2 separate regions of the Homo sapiens genome follow, and region 2 is linked to region 1. The links are contacts of gene promoters, found by promoter capture Hi-C in blood cells and fetal thymus (Javierre and others, 2016). All regions are on one chromosome and are shown on one strand. Each heading gives the region's core, a stretch centred on a gene start or on the middle of the fragment in contact. The rest is flanking DNA. Distances are from core to core; before and after follow the strand shown. Region 1 holds the start of CPSF1 (cleavage and polyadenylation specific factor 1). Region 2 holds the start of NRBP2 (nuclear receptor binding protein 2).

What was found. Contacts are between HindIII fragments. The CHiCAGO score rates a contact against its expected background, and 5 or more counts as called.
Region 2: a contact is called between the fragment with the promoter of NRBP2 here and the fragment with the promoter of CPSF1 in region 1, in 2 of 17 cell types (M0 macrophages and neutrophils). The highest score is 8.1, in M0 macrophages.

Annotation. Positions count from the first base shown.
Region 1 is chr8:144,408,015-144,410,644 of GRCh38, forward strand. It overlaps CPSF1 (cleavage and polyadenylation specific factor 1), which reads right to left and starts at 1,321. Exons shown (of 38, transcript NM_013291.3): 1 at 1,275-1,321; 2 at 1,001-1,158. The coding sequence starts at 1,144. RefSeq lists an enhancer at 808-857 and a silencer at 1,128-1,787. The HindIII fragment of the contact is 8,279 bases long and covers 1-1,708 here.
Region 2 is chr8:143,839,682-143,842,311 of GRCh38, forward strand. NRBP2 (nuclear receptor binding protein 2) reads right to left here and starts at 1,292. Exons shown (of 18, transcript NM_178564.4): 1 at 1,025-1,292; 2 at 426-548; 3 at 248-349; 4 at 55-144. The coding sequence starts at 1,153. RefSeq lists enhancers at 1,179-1,909, 1,910-2,630 and a silencer at 1,194-1,753. The HindIII fragment of the contact is 4,061 bases long and covers 1-2,630 here.

The DNA.
Region 1 (2,630 bases), core at 71-2,570:
AGAGGACAGGAGCCCTGGCCAGCAAATACATATGTATGCCGGGGTAGGTGCCCAGGAGGGTTGGCCTCCTTTGGCCTGAGCTTCTGACCCATCTGCCTGCTGGGTCAGCCCCTATTCACAACCCTCTTGTGGCTCCTCCCTGCTTTGTGGAGAATAGTCCTGACCACGGCCTACCTCCCTCCATCCCCACCACCACATCCAGTCTATACCACGGCCACACTGTGCATGTCTCTCCACCCTCAACTGCTTTGGGCCTGTGCACAGGCTGTTTCTTCTGCCTGGAACACCCTCCTCTCACCATCCCTGGGCCTGGGTAAGAGGTACTCCTCCCTTCAAGAGCAATGGAGAAACTGCCTCTTGCAAGTTGCTTTCCTGGACCAGCTTTCAACCCTCCGGCAACCAAAACACCACTGTATTTCCCAAACCCTTGAGGCGTGTGCCCCACTGTACCAAGACTCCTGTCAACAGTCTGTCCCCATCCTAGACCTGGCCTTGTTCCTTGTGCTACCAATGTCCTTCCCCCGACAAACTCCCGCTCTGCCTCAGACAGGCTCTTCTGATCATGCGACTGGAAATACACAGTCTCCTTCCTTCACTCCTTTATTCCCGCAGCAGCACTTGCTGCAGGGGCAGGTGTGTTTATTTAGATGTTCCCCTTCCCCAAGTGTCTGCAGGTGTGGTTCACATGGTATCTCTGCTACCCAGCGCACAGTGGGCGTTCGCTCCTTCCGAACAACTTGCTGAAAAAACGGAAGAGCAAACAAGACGGCTAGGGCAGCGCGCCCTTCCCGGTGGGGTAGGAAGGGAGGCAGAACAGGGTAGCAGCTGTGAGAAAGGATCTGAGCACAAGAGATTCAGGGTCATGTCCTGGCTCCTCAGGCTGAGGAACGTTAAGCAAATCACTCAACTTGTCTGGGGCTTGGCTCTTCCATCTGCAACCGGGGGCGGTGAGAGCACCCACGTCGCGGACAGCCGGGAGGGCTCCCAGGGCCCGACCTACCTCGGCGTCGCGGTTGAGGCGGTACACGTAGAGCTGCGAGGTCCCGGCCACTACCAGGTTGCGCTCGCTGTTGTTGAAGAAGTTGCAGTACATGGAGAACTCCAGACCGGTGGGCGGATGCGCCTGTTTGTACACGGCGTACATGGCGCCAACCCGGGCTGCGCAAGGCCGGGAGAGGAAGGGTGAGCGGGGTCGCCCACGCAGGAGCCCGGCCCCGCACCGCGCCCCTCCCCGGCCTCGCGCTGCCGCCTCGGCCGCCCGCCCGGCCGCCCACCTGGCAGTTGGAGCCGACTCGAGAGGAACCGGGACAGCAGCGAACTCAGTCCGGCCGGGCCCAGAAGCTGGGCGGGAAGGTTCCGGGCTTCTGCGCCTGCGCAGCGCCGCCGCGTGAGCGTGGCTGCAGGGGCGACAGCGGGCCCTAGTGGCCCGGGATGCGGGCGGCTGGCGGCTCGGCTCCGGGCTGGGCGTCCGGAACCCAAACCCCTAGCGCGCGAAGTGCGGGGCCTCCGCTGCGGGCGGAGCAGCGCGGGTTGGAAGCCGCAGGGGCGCCGGCTGCAGCGGCTCGGGGTCGGCCGGGGGGTGCGTCCGCGCCAGACCCAGGACGGCTGCAGGGAGAAGCGACTCCGCTCGTAGCTCCCGGGTTCAGGGGGCGCGCCGGAATCCAGAAGAGGGGGCGCGGCGCCTCGCCAGTGTCTGGGGCTCCGAGAAAGCTTCCTAGAGAGGCCGCACGCCCCCTCTGCCCAGTGTCCCCGCGCAGAGCGACCCCCGCCGCCAACACTCCCGCGGAGGACGCAGGACCCCGCGAGCCCAGCGCTGTCCGCCCGCCTTGCTCACTGCTGCCTACCCAGGGCGGGCCCAGTGCCAGCTTCCGGGAGCTTGGATCCTGGATCAGGCACGGGCCTAGGACCTAGAAACGGAATCATGAGAAATAAAACAAGAAAGTATCGTTACGCCCAAGAAAATGGCGTGGAAATATGTGTTTTTGTTGCATCCAAATCTACTTGCTCATTGGGCAGTGGGGGAAGGGCCACTTGGATGCTCAGGCGTGTGACCCCTGAGCCACACTCAACCGCCTTTTAAAAGTCAATAGGAGGCGGTGGCTCACGCCTGTAATCCCACTTTGGAAGGCCGAGGTGGGCGGATCACCTGAGGTCAGGAGTTCGAGACCAGCCTGGCCAACATGGTGAAACCCAGTCTCTACTAAAAATACAAAAACTGTGGGGGAAAGAGAGAGAGATCAGATTGTTACTGTGTCTATGTAGAAAAGGAAGACATAAGAAACTCCATTTTGATCTGTACTAAGAAAAATTGTTTTTGCTTTGAGATGCTGTTAACCTGTAACTTTAGCCCCAACCCTGTGCTCACAGAAACATGTGCTGTAATGAATCAAAGTTTAATGGATTTAGGGCTATGCAGGATGTGCCTTGTTAATATGTTTGTAGGCAGTATGCTTGGTAAAAGTTATCGCCATTCTTCATTCTCGATTAACCAGGGACACAATGCACTGCGGGAAGCCGCAGGGACCTCTGCCCAAGAAAGCCTGGGAATTGTCCAAGGTTTCCCCCCACTGAGACAGCCTGAGATATGGCCTCATGGGAAAGGAAAGACCTTACCGTCCCCCAGCCCAACA
Region 2 (2,630 bases), core at 42-2,541, 570 kb before region 1:
AGGCTGCCCCAACCCCGTCCTGTCCCCGTGGCTGCCCCAGCCCGCTCCCCATACCCGGGCGTTCATGGCCTTGTGGTTCTTCTTGGTCTTTTTGAGGAATTGCTTGAGGCTGCCTGATGACACGTACTCTGTGATGAAGATGACCTGCACGGTGCGAGCTCAGGATTTCCACCAGCTGCGGGTTCGTCCCCATGCCCGCCCCACCTAGCTGTGGTCTCTGCCTGCCCGGGGCCTTGCCCGTGCTCACCCTCGCGCAGGCCTCAGAGGTATCCAGCCAGTACTTGTGCAACTTCACGATGTTCGGGTGGTCCACCAGCACCAGCTGCTCGAACACGGTCTGGATCTTCTCCTGGGGAGGGAGGGTGGTCGCTGGGTGGTCAGCAGGTGGTCACCCAAGCAGGATGAGGAGGGGGCAGCGGTCTCACCTCGTGCGCCGCGAAGGCCTTCCTGTCTCCGAAGTGGAGCTCGTTCCACACCACCTCTACCCCCTCCTCCGTGTCCATGGCTAGGAAGGTGCTCTGAAGCCCTGGCATGTTCCCTTGGTTTACCTGGGGGTGAATAAAGGGTTATGTGTGCCCTGGTGTGTGTCAGGGTTGTGGGTGAGGATTTGGTCCCTGTCCACACCTTTCCAGTGGGCCCAAGCGTGGGCTGCAGGCCCTGAGCCACTCTGCGGGAAGGTGGGGCTTGGAGGGTAGCTGCCCCCAGGAGCCAAGGGCTCCTATCCAAGGGCTGGGCTAAGGGGATTTGGAGCAGGTTTCAGGGGGTCGAGGGGGATCCCCAGGAAGCTAGCGGCTGAGTCCAGAGGCATGGGGAGGTGGTCCTGGGAGGAGACTGGCCCTCAGGGAGTCCCAGGGCGAGCGCCAGGCCAAAGGGGTCCAGGGGTGGCTGATTCGCGGGCCGCGAGGGGCCGCGGAGAGGTTTCCAGCCGCCGCGCTCTCCCAGCGCCCCCACGCCCCGCGCAGCCTCCAGGCCCCTCCCGCTCTGGGAGGGCGGTGTCACCCCGTGCCCCAACCCCCGCGCCCACCTGCTCCCGTCGCTTTTGCCAGCGACCACACGGGCTTTCCTCCAGGATGTCGCTCTCGTCCTCGCTCTCGTCCTCCCGCTCCCGCTCCCGTTCCCGGGCCCGCCTCGGCGCCGGCTCCGGGGCCGCCATGGTTCGGCCAGCCCAGGCCACCGCCCTCTGCGCGATCCGCCGCCGGCGCAGCCTCTCCCGGCCCGCCCTGGCCTCGCGCCCAGCAGCCCAGCCTAGAGCCGCCGCGGCAGCCTAGAGCCCCAGCCCCGGCTCTGGGAATTGGGAGGCGCGGGCGCGCGGCGGACGGGCGGGGCCCGGGGGCGGAGCCGGCGCGCACCTCCCGAGCCGCCTGTGCCTGCCGGAGCCAGAGCAGAGCTTCCCCGAGAGCTGCCGAGCCCGGGCCGCGCCCAGGCCCCGCCCCCCCGGAGGCCCCGCCCCGCGAAGCCCCGCCCCAGTCCCTGTTTCCTCCTCGTCTCCCAGGCCTGCTCCGCGAAGCCCCTCCCCAGGCCCTGTCCCCTCCTCGTCCTCCAAGCCTCCTTCGCGAAGCCCCGCCCCAGGACCCGCCCCACCCCCGCGAATCCCCGCCCCGTTTTAGTCCCCGCCCCCGCCCGTTCCCAGGGTCCTCCGCGAAGCCCCACCCCAGGCCCCGCCTCACCTCCTCGAAGCCCCGCCCCTATGAGGCCCCGCCCCGCGCAGAGGAACCGCCCCCAAATCCCCGCCCCCTCGGAGGCCCCGCCCTGCGGACACCTGGAGCCCGGAGCGCCCACTTCTCTCGCGGTTGCTCCCCTAGGATCTGGGGGAAGACCCGGGGCATCTGGGGGCCCCCAAGCCCACGGCACCCTCCAGCTGCAGAAGACCCCGCGGGCTCGAAAGCGGGACCCGCTCTCCTGGCCACGCACTCATTCCCCGGCCGACCCCCAAGGGACAGGTCGAAGGGGCACCGAGGGCGGGGGAAAGGCCCACCAGCAGGCTGACCCAGGCTGACTTTGATCGGTGACCACGAATCTCTCCCTGGCCCGCCCACCAGTGCCTCCTCCCGCCCACAAGCCCATCTTCTCACTTTCCAGGATGGCGATTTTCTCTTTTCTCCTCAAACGCGCATTTCCTTTCCGCGGCTGGCTCCCATGGGACAGTGGAACCATGAGGGGGGAGCCCACCCGGCTCACACGACCTCTCCCTCCGGAGGCCGCTCTAAGCACACCCTCCAGCCACGCCGACCACCGGGGCTGTCCCCGATTCTCACCTAAAACCCCCTTCAGCCCACAGCCCCCACGGCCTTCCTGTGGTCTCCTCCCTCCTTCACGGCGGGTCCTCATCCTTTACCTTCTCTCTCTGGAGCCCAAATTGGAACTCCGCTCCTCCCCTCCGCGCAGCTCCATGCACTGGCCCTTTGGGACGCCTCTTTCTTTCTTTGGCAGAGGTGCATCTGGCCCTGCTGCGTCCCCTGTGGTCTCTCTTTTCTGACCAGCCTTGGTCACCAGGCACCTTGTGTGTGGTTTCCACCAATGCCAGGTGATCCTGCTGAGGCCCTCTGCAGTAAAGGTTTGGGGTGTTCAAATCCTCCACCCTGAAACTGGCCCTGACCAGCTCCTGGGAGACACCCTCTAAGCCCTTGGAA